Regions from separate parts of the Homo sapiens genome. Here region 2 is linked to region 1. Evidence: promoter capture Hi-C in 16 types of primary human blood cells and fetal thymus (Javierre and others, 2016). All regions are on one chromosome and are shown on one strand. The core of a region is centred on a gene start or on the middle of the fragment in contact, and the rest is flanking DNA. Distances in the headings are between cores, read along the strand shown. Region 1 holds the start of PSMD10 (proteasome 26S subunit, non-ATPase 10). Region 2 holds the start of VSIG1 (V-set and immunoglobulin domain containing 1).

The links. The method cuts DNA at HindIII sites, captures the fragments that hold promoters and counts their contacts. A CHiCAGO score of 5 or more calls a contact.
Region 2: the fragment with the promoter of VSIG1 here is called in contact with the fragment with the promoter of PSMD10 in region 1 in 4 of 17 cell types (neutrophils, activated CD4 T cells, total CD4 T cells and 1 more); the score reaches 9.8 in neutrophils.

The regions. Positions count from the first base shown.
Region 1 is chrX:108,087,815-108,094,850 of GRCh38, forward strand. It overlaps PSMD10 (proteasome 26S subunit, non-ATPase 10), which reads right to left and starts at 3,728. Exons shown (of 5, transcript NM_002814.4): 1 at 3,593-3,728; 2 at 938-1,036; 3 at 139-285; 4 at 1-38. The coding sequence starts at 3,706. It overlaps ATG4A (autophagy related 4A cysteine peptidase), which reads left to right and starts at 3,964. Exons shown (of 13, transcript NM_052936.5): 1 at 3,964-4,022. The coding sequence starts at 4,013. RefSeq lists enhancers at 3,477-3,876, 3,927-4,166. The HindIII fragment of the contact is 5,520 bases long and covers 851-6,370 here.
Region 2 is chrX:108,040,335-108,046,943 of GRCh38, forward strand. It overlaps VSIG1 (V-set and immunoglobulin domain containing 1), which reads left to right and starts at 4,731. Exons shown (of 7, transcript NM_182607.5): 1 at 4,731-4,845. The coding sequence starts at 4,797. The HindIII fragment of the contact is 8,448 bases long and covers 2,234-6,609 here.

The DNA.
Region 1 (7,036 bases), core at 2,478-4,977:
TCTGGATTAGCCCCGCCTTCCAGTAACATGACAGCGATCTGGAAAGATGGAGAAGAAAGAAGAAAACAATGCAGAAATCTATCTGTGTTTGTATACACGTTTAGAACTCAACAGAAGTAGCCTAGGATGGAACCATACCTCATGCCTGTTTTTCGAAGCTGCATAATGTAAGGGAGTACAGCCATTTTGATTGACAGCATTCACTTGAGCACCTTTTCCCAGAAGGGCTTTTACAATCTCATCCCGGCCAGCAGAAGCCGCAATATGAAGAGGAGACCAACCTGCCTATAAAAGAAGTAGGTAGTAGAAATACCAGGGGAAAAAGGCACAAGGATTAGTGCTAACATTTAGGAAGGGTTAGCAAGGAGCTTTACAAAGGCAAAAAAATATTTGCCTACAAAAAAGGTTCCATTCTTACTCTTCACAAATCTAATCCTAATATAACCATATCATTAGAATAAATCTCTTTATGTAACAAAAAAGTTATTTAGGTCCTCATTATTCAGGCCATGTTCACCAAAAAACAAAAAATCCAACATAATAGAAAGAGTTTATGGTCTTTTAGGGTTCACCATAACAAGCCCTGATCTGTATGTTTATTTTTGTTTTTTTATTTTTAGAGACAAGGTCTCAGTCTGTCACCCAGGATAGAGTACAATGGCTCACTGCAGCCTCAAACTACTAGGCTGGAGCAATCCTCCTACCTCAGCCTCTCCTGTATGTTTACCTTAAATCACAGAGTATGAGTGGCAAACATAACATTGTAAAATAATGCAACCATGAGTCTCATGCTTGATCACAAGGGCCATGATGTAACTTTCCAGTCATAAAGGTTACAATTTTCTTTATAAGCTTAATGCACAGGCTTCAGTAAACACCAGTCTGGAGTACAAAGATAACTGGGAATTTATCAACTCAACTTTATCAAAGTACTCACATCGTCTTTATCATTCACTGGCACTCCAAGTTGCAACAAAAATTCAACAATTTCTGTATGTCCAGCTGAGCATGCCCAGTGCAATGCAGTTCTGCTGTCCTACAGAGAAGCAGTAATAGAAACATTCTTGAAATAGAAGGCAAAAAAGCAAGAAAAAAAATACTGGTGCTGGCAAATCTATAGTTTGAAAATACGAAATGCAGAGCACTGGATCCTCAGGTAGGTAACCTTAAACTATATTACTTACTGGTATAAGACAGATGAAGGTTTAAGTAACATGGGGAGAATGACATTGATGAACATACGTAATTCTGGGCAGAATACGACAAGGAAAGTAGTAGAGCAAGAAACTGATTTCAATGCTTTGACAGAAATACATCTTTGGTTGTTTTACTATTACATTATTTACGTACTTTTATGTCAGGCACTGTGCTGGGAGTTTTACATGTATAGTATCATTTAATTCCTACCATTCTACACAGTGCTTATTATCTCCATTTTTCAGATGAGGAAACTAAAACTCCTCAGGGTAAGCAACTTGTGGACGGTCATATGGATACTAAATGGTGAAGTTGGGGCACAACTGTCAGTGAAGTTCTGACTCTGAAATCTCTACTACCACACTGACCTCAAGTTAGATGCTGTAGAAGGAACACATGAATCTAATGGGGGAAGAAATGTTCATTAAACTAGTTGAAATTATCTAGAATTTAAAATCATAAATAAATTAGAAATATAATTTAGAAAACACAACACACAGAAAACAAGAAAATTACTTTTTATAAAAAATAATAAGCTATGGCCGGGTGCGGTGGTTCACGCCTATAATCCCAGCACTTTGGGAGGCTGAGGTGGGCAGATCACCCGAGGTCAGGAGTTCTAGACCAGCCTGGCAACATGGTGAAACTCCGTCTCTACTAAAAATACAAAAGTTAGCCAGGCGTGGTGGCAGGCGCCTGTAATCCCAGCTACTTGGGAGGCTGAGGCAGGGGAATCGCTTGAACCCGGGAGGCAGAGGTTGCAGTGAGGTGATACGGCACCACTGCACTCCAGCCTGGGCAACAAGAGCGAAACTCTGTTTCAAAAAATAAATAAATAAAAATAAATAAAAATTAAAAAAGCTATAGTAGTCATTATTTGTCAAAGGGAATCCCTATTTGCAGTGACTGCTATACTTCTTAGCCCCACAGAATAGAAAATGGTATTTTAAACTCTATTACAAAAAAATTTCAAACACAAAAATAGAGGGAATAGAATAGAAACCCACAGGCCTACTGCTTAGATTTAACAACAAACATCTTGCCCTATTTGCTTTAACTAGTTTTTTCCTTGCTGAGCTTTCCAAAAACAAATCCTAAATATCATGACTTTTCACCCTTCTCTTTCAGTATGTAAAAAATAAAGGTATTTCTTATATAACTATGAGACCATTATTACACTTACTAAAATTAACACTAACTCCTTTAGAATGTCTAATATCCGGTCTGTATTCAGATTGCCCCCAACTGTCTCCCAAATGTCTTTTTGCAGTTGGTTTGTTTAAATCAGGAACCAGACGAGATCCATAAATTGCATTTCTTCATGTTTTTTACGTCTCTTGATGCTGAATAGTTCCTTTCCCTTTTTAAGCCACTGACTTGACTGAAGAATGGTTAAATTTCCAATGGAGTATTAAATCTTAATATAAAGTATTACATTTAAATTTAAATCCTTAAATATCACCAGACCATAATGAAGTAAACCAGGTAAAGATAAGGCCATTTTCAGGTTGAGTAATAAAGGAAAGTTCCAGAAAAGAGAAAACAGTCTCTTGATTTCTAATTCTCTCCCAAAAGACACAAAATGGAGATCTGTAAGTATGGGACAGTCTCACTAGTGCTTACGACACTGTCTGCGAAACACAAGGCCATCTATAAATATTTGTGGGCTTACTAAAGGCACCATGAATCCTAGAAACTGAGGATGAAAGCACGAGAGTCCTGTGAGCAGGAGGGCAGAAAGAAACACTTCTAAACTTCTGTCTACCTCTGCTTAGAATGTCCACTCATTCCCCCATGGAAATCCCACTCATGCTTCAAAGTCTAACTAACCTTCCCTTCTTTGCAAAAACTTTTCCAATTAACGACAGTCATATTCAGCATCAGATCCTCCTATTAACGTGTTCTGAAAGCACCATGTAAACTTCTCTGCCGAGTATTTACCACAATTTGTAATCGGACATGTTTTTGTGCTTATTTTATTGTCTGCATCTTCCACTCCACCGTATCCCCAGCTCCTAGCAAACTGCCTGGCACGGAAGGGGCGTTCAATTTCACATGCGTTACTGAATACAGTTACTAGTAAAGGTAAATAAATCCATATAAAAAGCCTTCCTTTTCACTGATTGGGAGTTTCTGAGAAATGCGGTAGACGTTCTAGAACTATCCAAAAATCAGGGAGCGGAGCTCCGGGCCAACGGGAAAATATCTGAGGTCTGTGGGGCTAGCTCCCGCAGGCCTATCGCGAGTCCCGAGGTGACCCAGGGGGACTGCTTGGGGCGGCGGGGGCGGGGTTCTGCTTCTCTCAGAAACGGGGCCTCCGCTAGGGCCGGGCCCCGAAAGCCACGTAGGGCTTCGCCGACGTCGCCGACTGCGGAGAGACCTAGCGTTGCTTTACCTGGTCAGTTCTAGTAGCCAGGGATTTATCGGCCAGAATACTCTCCTTCAACTCTTCCAGCTTCCCGCTGTAGGCCAGGTTGCAGACCATTAGGTTAGACACACACCCCTCCATTTCGCTGTCCCAGCAACTACTTGTCGCGCGAGCAACGCCCGCCTCACGTCGCCGGCTCCGGCTACGCCAGTCAAAACAGCCGTTAGAGCTTCACCAATCACCGGCCTTCCTCGTTCCCTTTTCTTTTCCCGTCGCGCGGCGCCTCTGGGAGTTGCAGTTTGAGAGCAGTTCCGGGCAGGGAGGCGCCTTTGCTGCCCTCACAGACTTGGCCCCTAGCAGTGCAGAACTACAAGTCCCAGGGATCCTAGCGACCGTCCGTCCGTAGTCAAGTTGCCGGTGGAATTGGCCCAGGATGACAGCTGGAGAATGGAGTCAGGTACGGGGAGCGGCTTTGAGTGGAACCGTGTGAAAGAGCCGGGGTGGGTAGTCGCTGGCGGGTCGTTGAGTCGGCCATATGAAACAGGTTCGGGGGCAGGGCAAGAGTTATGAGAGCCTAAAGGTCCTGTCCCCCGGGGTTCCTGACCTGCAGTGGCAGGCGGAAGGGACAAGGGTTGGAGCTGAGTACTACCTACTGAGCTCGAACCGGTGACTGTGGCTACCCTCCCCCTCCCTGCCACCGCCTAGGGAGTGGAAAGAAGTGGGGGTTAATTACTCTGACATCTCGGCGGTGTGGCATCAGGACAGGGTTCTACCACAGCAGTGATAGCATATGGCACCGTACTGAGGTGATGTGCCAGGGTGATGCCAAAGGCAGGGTGTGATGCCGTGGGAGCCACCTGATATCTAAGAGACCTCGGTGAGTCCATAGCCTGGTGACATCACAGCTTGATGAGGGTCATCTTAAGGATACCGGGCTGTGGTGTTGGCATTTTAATATCACGATATTAACTATGTTGTCAAGGCTTTGCTACAACTATTAAGCTAATAGTGTTTCTTTTTATAGAAATCCCAAATAGTGCCATAGCAGAAGCAATGCAAGACTGATCCTTTATAGGGCATATCCAGAGGACATTATGCCACAACTAGGTAACGATAAGAATACATTCAAGAAAGAGACTCATGATGTTTATGTTTATCCTGTTATAGTGTAGAACAGGAGTTGGGAAACTTTCTGTAAAGAGCCAGATAGTAAATATTTTAGGCTTTGTAGGCCAAAAGGCAAAATCAAGAATATTTTGTTGGTACTTTTATGACAAAAGAGAAAACAAATTTCAACAAATTTTTATTGATGAAATTCAAAATATAATAGTAATTGAGTACTTTTTTTGTAATACAGGAAGACTACCAATGAGAAGAATAGAATTCTTTTTAGGGGATAATATTTTGCTTAATTGGGGCTCAGAATTAGTGTTCCCTATTGTCAAAATTGATTTTAAGTGTTCATCTGTTAATGCTGATCTGTTAGGAAATTTTTACCTATTTAATCTTTGAAAATGTCATTTTACATAGATAGGTACTGCCAAATACTGATATCAATTCATAAACATATACTTTTTTATTTTTATTTTTATTTAATTTTTCAAAAATTTCAGAATAGTTGTAGATTTATAGAAAAGTTGCAAGGTTAGTAGAGTTCCTGTATAACACTCACTCAAAATGAGGCACATTTTACATATCATAAAATTCACTGATTTCAAGTGCATAATTAAATGATTTTTGGTAACTTTACTGAAGTGGGGCAACCATCACCATAAATCAGTTTTAGAACTTTTTGATCCCTCCAGTAAGGTCCCTCATGCCTATTTATAGTTAATCAATCCTCTGTCCCATTCCCAGCCCCAGACAACCACTAATCTACTTTTTTGTTTCTATAAATTTGCCTATTCTGGACATTTTATATAAATGAAATCATACAATATGCAGTCTTTGTGTCTGATTTCTTTCACTTAGCATAATATTTTTGAGATTCATCCATATTGTAGTATGTATCAGTACTTCCTTACTTTTTTATTGCTGAATAGTATTCCATTTTATGGATATAACACATTTTTATCTGTCTACTCACTATTAGATAGGCACATCAGTTTCCAATTTTTGGCTACTATGACTAGTGCTGCTAAGAAGATTAGTATGTAAGTCTTCGTGCGGACATATTTTTTTCATTTCTCTTTGATAGATACTTAAGGGTGGAGTTACTGGATCACAGGGAAAATTTATGCTTAACTTCTTAAGAAACTGCAAAACTGTTTTCCAAAATGGCAGCAACATTTTGCACTTCCACTAGCAATGTATGAGAGTTCCTGTTTCTCCACATCCTTGCCAACATTTGTTATTTACTGTGTTTTTTGTTATAGCCATTCTAAGTGGGTGTGAAGTGGTGTCTCATTGTGGTTTTAATTTATAAATTATAATTTATAATACGGTGAGCATATTTTCATGTGCTTATTAGCCATTCATATATCTTCTTCAGTGAAGTGTCTGTTATATCTTTTGTCTGTTTTTAAATTGAGTTATTTGTTTTTTTAGTGTTGAGTTGTAAGGATGGTTTATATATTCTAGATCAAGTCCCTGAGAGATATATGATATGCACATATATTCTCCCAGTCTGTTGCTTGCCTTTTTCTTTTTTTGATGGTGTCTTTTGAAGTGAAAACGTTTTGAATTTGGGTGAGGTTCAATTTATCATTTTTTTTTCTTTCATGGACCATTCTTTTGGTGTTGTACTTAAGAAGTCTTTGCCTAATTGCAAGGTCTCAGTGATTTTCTCCAATGTTTTCTTCTAAAAGCTTTATTACTTCATCTCTTACATTTAAGTCTATGATTCATTTTGAGTTCATTTTTTCTCTGTGATGTGAGGTGAGAGTCTAAATTCATCTTTTTGCATGTGGATGTAGAAATTGTCCTAGCACCATTTGCTGAATCTCTTATCATTAACGTCTTACATTGCTATGCTATCTATGTCACAACTAATAAGCCCACAGTGGTATATTGCTATTAACTATACCCCATGCTTTTTTTTTTCAAGTTTCACTAGTTTATCTCTAGAGATGCTGTCCCATCCAGGATACCACATTACGTTTAGTCATTGTATCTCCTTAGCCTCTTCTGGTTTGTGACACTTTCTCACACTTTTCTTGTTTTGGTGACCTTGATAGTTTTAAGGAGTACTGGTCAGGTATTTTGTAGAAAACCCCTCAATTTTATGCTTAGACTGGCATTATGTGTTTGGAAGAAAGTCTGCAGAGGTCAAGTACCACATTCTTATCATACACTATCCTCAAACATGATTTTAATTGAGCATATTCATTGCGTGGAATAGAATTCTGTTCTTCTCTTAATAGTGCCTTTTAGCATTATGTGGCAGGTTAATCACTTCCAATTGAAAGTTTGGTGAAAGCTGCTCAATTGCACAGTTAAAGGGATTTTGGAATATGGAATATCCTTTGCACT
Region 2 (6,609 bases), core at 3,481-5,980, 46 kb before region 1:
TACTAGTAAAAATAAAAGGCTGAGGACCACAGAGGAGGTTTACAGAGTAAATAAATAAATAAAAGACTGATAATTTTCATTGCCAACAAGGCTGTGGAGAAGCAGGCACTCTCATACACTCTTAATGGAGGTATGGTTTGTAAAGAACTTCTGGCGGACAATTTTGCAGTCTACCAAAAATGTAAACTACATACCCTTTGATCAAGCAATTCCATTTCTAGGGACCTAATCTACAATAATAATCACACAAGTGGGCAGATCTTGACAAAAGGATGTTCATTGCACCATTGTCAATAATATTGAAAAACTGGAAACCATCTAAGAATTTACCAATAAGAGAATGATTAAATAAATTGAGGTACATTCATATCATGAAATACCATGCAGCCTTAACATGGACAAGGTTGATCTATAGATGCAGCTGGACCTAGTGACAGAAAGAGAGAATAAAAATACTTTTTTTAAGGGAGAAAAGCAAATTATAGAACAAAATGTACAGTATTATCATCTTTATGTTTTAAAAAACCTCGTGTGTGTGTGTGTGTTTGTGCATGTGTACATGCACAGAAAAAGGTCTGAGAAAAATGCTAAACTCCTGTTCCATGTGAGCCTGGGAAAGGGATTACATGTGTGAGTGAATGAATGGGACTTTTTTTCCTCTGTATCCTTGTTTGTCCTTTGAAAACCATTTACTATCAAAATGTATTACTTTTGTAATTTTTAAGTTAAAAATGAGGGATAAATCAGATATCACATATTTCTGAAAGTTCCCAAGGAAGAATACTGGGGGCAGTAGCATATTTGTTACATTACAATCACACCGTGCCATTGTGTGGTGTGATAGGAACAGCTTCTAATGCGTGCTATGGTGACCTTGGGAAAAGCACAGCACTTTTGAGCCTCAGTTTTCTTATATAGAAAATGTAGGTATACCTGACTTATTTGTTGTATTGGAAAGCTACATGTTCATTGAACCATTGTCAATAATATTGAAAAACTGGAAACCATCTAAGAATTTACCAATAAGAGAATGATTAAATAAATTGAGGTACATTCATATCATGAAATACCATGCAGCCTTAACATGGACAAGGTTGATCTATAGATGCAGTTGGACCCAGTGACAGAAAGAGAGAATAAAAATACCTTTTTTAAGGGAGAAAAGCAAATTATAGAACAAAATGTACAGTATTATCATCTTTATGTTTTAAAAAACCTCGTGTGTGTGTGTGTGTGTGTGTGTGTGTGTGTTTGTGCATGTGTACATGCATAGAAAAAGGTCTGAGAAAAATGCTAAACTCCTGTTCCATGTGAGCCTGGGAAAGGGATTACATGTGTGAGTGAATGAATGGGACTTTTTTTCCTCTGTATCCTTGTTTGTCCTTTGAAAACCATTTACTATCAAAATGTATTACTTTTGTAATTTTTAAGTTAAAAATGAGGGATAAATCAGATATCACATATTTCTGAAAGTTCCCAAGGAAGAATACTGGGGGCAGTAGCATATTTGTTACATTACAATCACACCGTGCCATTGTGTGGTGTGATAGGAACAGCTTCTAATGCGTGCTATGGTGACCTTGGGAAAAGCACAGCACTTTTGAGCCTCAGTTTTCTTATATAGAAAATGTAGGTATACCTGATTTATTTGTTGTATTGGAAAGCTACAAAGATAAAATGGAAAATTAGTTTAAAAATTATAAAGCTCTATAAAACTGCAAAGGATATTTAATATTTCGTGTCCTAGTTAATGACCCACTTTTTAAGCAATAGTTAATAACATCAAAATCCAGGTCCAAGCAGAGAGTTTAAATTCTCTTTTAGAGTTTGTTATAACAGAATTCTTCCTGTCCTGGTTAGGTCTTACATAGCAGCAGTATAGATATTTTACTTAAATATTCCAGAGTGTTTTGTGTTTGCACAACAGATTTTGGTGCAGATGGGTTTGGGCAATATCCTTAAATCATACCCTCTGCTGCACTCATCTTAGGGCCAACCAACTCAGACATACTGAATTAATTAGCAAGCTCTTACTTAGCACCTACTTTGTGCCTAGTAATCCCCTGTGGGTAGGTAACCAGACACCCAGGTTTGTCTGGCACTGTTACTGTTTATGCTGTCTTTCCCAGGTAATTGCTAATAGTGCCCCTTTCACTTTCAAAAGTGTCCTAGTTTTAATGATCAATGGTCACACTACTATAATCACTTATGGGGCATGGAAGGAAACACAGGAAGCTTCTGGCTTACAAATGCCAGACTTATAAATTTCGCTCCCCATCCCACGTCCTCACCACTGGAACTACCGGTATTACTTCCAGGGTGGGGGGCATTGTGAAAACTATGGGTCTTTTAGAGACTTGGTGGACTTAGAAGTCAAGGCAGAACCAAGCCTGAGAAAAGGTGGTATGGATCTCCAGAGACCCACCCTACAAGTTGTCCTCCTTTGCAAAATCTTCTCCCTCAAACTATTTCTCTTTATTGCATTGCCTAATTCTCCTGGTCAGAGATTTATGTGAGGAAAGTAAGCACTGTATTTTTAATAGCACAAACAGGTTGGAGAATGTTCAATGAAACGTTTTTTTTTCCCTTCCTAACATGGAGCTGCTGTCTGCTTATACAGGGGAAAGGGAGGGTTTCTGGGAGGAATAGAGGTGAAAAGGAAAAAGTAATTTTGGAGCATGAGATATTCTGGGGAATGAGACTCTCCCTTAGGGCAAACTAGGGACCCAGGAGCCAGGGGGCCGTGAAGGTGGGAGGCAGAAGAGAAGGTGGATGTCAGAGACATGCAATAGTTATTTGGGGGAAAATGTTGATTTGTGCACAAGTCATATCTTGGGAAATGAAAGGAACGTTCTTTCTCTGTCACCTGCTGTTCCTCCTCACCCTCCACTGCCTTATACGGCCCAGTACGCAGAATTCAAGCCAGTGCTAGATTATGTGCTACATGCCTGACAGTGAGACTCATATTATAACATTGCTTCTGCAGGAGTTCTTGCGTGCAGTCAACGAGTTTACCATTACATCTTGGGACACGCTCATTTTAAAGTTGGGAACTGCCTGTATAAGACATGGTCCCTACCCTGGAGGGATTCACAGTGACTAGATTTAAGGTAGACCAGTTAATAAATGCGAAACTACTGGAGAATAATCAATGGTCAGCTGTAGGATATTGGCTTTAAGTAAAATGGAAATTTATGCTAGGGTGGTATGTCGGTTCATTGAAATTCTCACATAGGACAGTATGACTGATCTATGCTAAGAATATACTTGGCTAGTAAGAGGAGGAAGAAGAAAACTCTAGTGATGGAAATCACCTGGAGCCAACGTTTGGCATCAGACATGAGCATGGACAGGATAGGCTGCAAGGAGGAATCAGGCATGATGGAAGCAAAATGGCTTTCTAAGAAGCAGTGGGAGATTGGAATGGCTAAAGTAAGATGGGGTCAAACATTTCCTGTAAATTAAAGACAGGAACATAAAACATATCACTTGAAATTTGTACACATTTCATGTGACTGAACACTTTGAGGCAATAAATCTTGACATACTTTTTCAGGGGCATGAGTTAATGTGGCTAAAGTTCAGATGAGGTGAGGATCAGATATTGGAAGAATGGGAATCCATATTAAGGACTTTGGATTTGATGAAAGAGTCCATTTATGGTGTTACTGGAAATATTTCACTAGGGCTGGAACATTGGCCTGCGGCTGGCACACAGGATGAAGGTGGAATAAGTCAGGGAGACCACTTAGGAAGCTGCTATGATAGGCCAAAGTGGGAAGCTGAGTACCTGGACCAAGATGGAAGCAGCAGATTGGAGAAAGAACACATCTGAAAGTCGCTGTGGAGATGGAAATGATAGGACTTAGAAATCACATGGGAAGAGCCAGAGAAAGTCCTTAGGTTTCTCCGGGTAACTTAAGCATAATAGGAACACTATTAGAAGTTCATGTTCCCATGAAAGTTCCTTACCTGTGGAGCCTCCCATGCCCTCCTGGTGAACCTCCATTTCTAAGGAAACCCTATAGCATTTACTGAGTATCTTAATTCTCCAAAAAATCAGACTTCTCCAAAGAAAGTCTTTAAGCATGTATTCACTAACTTGATTTTGCAAAATTACGTTAGCAAATACGTGCTATAAGGTTTCTAACCCGACAGACAAAAGCATGTAAATCATTTTACTGCTAGTTTTGGTGGAGGGTAGTGACAACTGCCAGTGTTTCAAAAAAGAGTAACATATCCAGAGTTTGTTCACACAGAAATGAATGCTTTTTAGCTTCATAACCCCTGTGCCCTTCCCGTGAGCCCCATCTCCCCAGGAAACGATATAGTACCAATTTACTAACTTAATTTGTAAAAGGAGGTTAGTGAATCAATTCTGTAAGACTCATGGAAATATTTGAAATTAATTAGCCTTGTCAGCTTTTATTTGCATAGGCTCTCTTCCAACCATATCCCCCAGCCCAAGTACAACGTTTTAGTAAGATTGATTTTAAACAATGAGACTTAGAGAATCTGTGTACAAGGAGCTTGAATAATTTAAATGCGTGGGTTTATTATTAACACAGTAGCAAATATATCAAGGAAACACGCCCCATGAAAAGTGTTTCAAAGAAACACAAATCTGTACTGAAAAAAGTCTATACGCAATAAGTAAGCCCAAAGAGGCATGTTTGCTTGGCGATGCCCAGCAGATAAGCCAGGCAAACCTCGGTGTGATCGAAGAAGCCAATTTGAGACTCAGCCTAGTCCAGGCAAGCTACTGGCACCTGCTGCTCTCAACTAACCTCCACACAATGGTGTTCGCATTTTGGAAGGTCTTTCTGATCCTAAGCTGCCTTGCAGGTAAGGAAAGGATCTCCAAACCACCAAATATAATTGGAAACAGAGTTTCCTTTTAAATAAAAATTCCACATTTTTACATAGAATTTTCATCTCCTGTACTTCAAATGAATTGTGATTAGTATGATGAGTTAATTTTCAGAACTCTTGCTTAGCAAACATATGCCATGCTGATATATTAGGGGTGTAAGCCCATAATATTATTGTTTTATGGAGCTTCTGAATGAAAATTTTCTCAGAAAAAAATATAGTTTATTACTTTACTTACTTTGAAAAGTGAAAAAAATGAATTTACTCAGAAACCAAACTTTGTGCTAGGGATAATTTTGTCTCTGTTTTACTTACTTTAGTGTTTCCTTTAAGCTCAGTGATTGACTTGCTCTAGCAGGCAGAGCCTGGGTTGGAGGGCCTGCCCTGGCTTACATATGGGAAGAACAGAAATTTACTGAGTACTTTACTGTCTAATATTTCTTAAGGAGTTGTGGTTTTCCAATCCTAAGACTGTATTTTGCAAAATATGTGAGTGATTTATGGTGCACAACATGGGTGATTTTAGGTATCTGAACAGAAGAAAATCAATTTTGGAATCAAAATACTGATGTTAGTTAGATCCAGGAGAGATCATTAATTCCAAAAATCCCTTGGGTAGTTTTCAAATATCAGATACATTTTGCATCTGTTCTTATAAGTTAGGTCCATAGTAAATACAATAATATTGTTTATCCAAAAACAGGATTTTCAAGCCATTAGTAATATTAGGCAGTGGTTAGAATGAGGTTTACTAGGCGTATTAATGACATAAGAAAATACCCACGATAAAATATTAAGTGAAAAAGCAGGATGCACACATATGCCTAGAATAAATTACTAGAAGGTTATATACCGAAGTGCTCATGGTGGTTGCCTCTGGGTGATGGGATTATAGATGATTTTAATTTTATTTCCCAGCTTTTCATACTTCCTGGGTTTTCTACGAAGAACATTATGCTATTTTTATAATTAGAAAAAAGTGTTACTTTTCAAAGTGATCTCATGTTTAGAAATAGTTCTTTAAATGTTCATTACTAAATGTTTAAGCATAGATGTTTTATGGAGTTAAACATCACCAGAAGGCAATACTCCATTTGTCCAGTGACCTAACTAGGCCCTAGAGCTGGAAACACATGTTCCTATTTTCCCTTCTCCCCAGGCATATTCATTTAAATGTAACTTTAGATATGGAAGTTTTGTCTCTTCTTAAAGGGTTTCCAGTCATTAGCCAGTTGGGTCGACCCCTGGGCCTTCTGCATCAGCCCTCTAAGATCATACCTGTTTCCCTATGTGAAGCCTTGCCCTGGCCCATACTAGGCACAGGGTTTGGAACGGTTGTTAAGAACAGTTTTTTTTTTTTTTAACTGTACCTAACATACAAGTAATTTTTACTGATTATAAATGTAATGCATGGTCATTGTAGAAAGGTTGGAAATATGGAAATTTAAAATAAAATAAAAATCATCTGCAATTTTACCACTCAGATTTGGGTGAATTATTATTCTTTTATTTGCAGGTGTATATATTACATTTTAAAAATTGGGTTTATTCCTTGTATACTTTTTTATTGTTTAAAAAAATTGTTTAGCATCATGTCAGGATTTTATTTTATTGTGACTTTTAGAACAAGACCAATAAATACTTCAGAGTGTGTTTCCTAAGTTACTATATAACTGATTTTGTTGGTATATAGTGTACACTATATATCTACACACATATTATCTAGTTGGCCCAAAG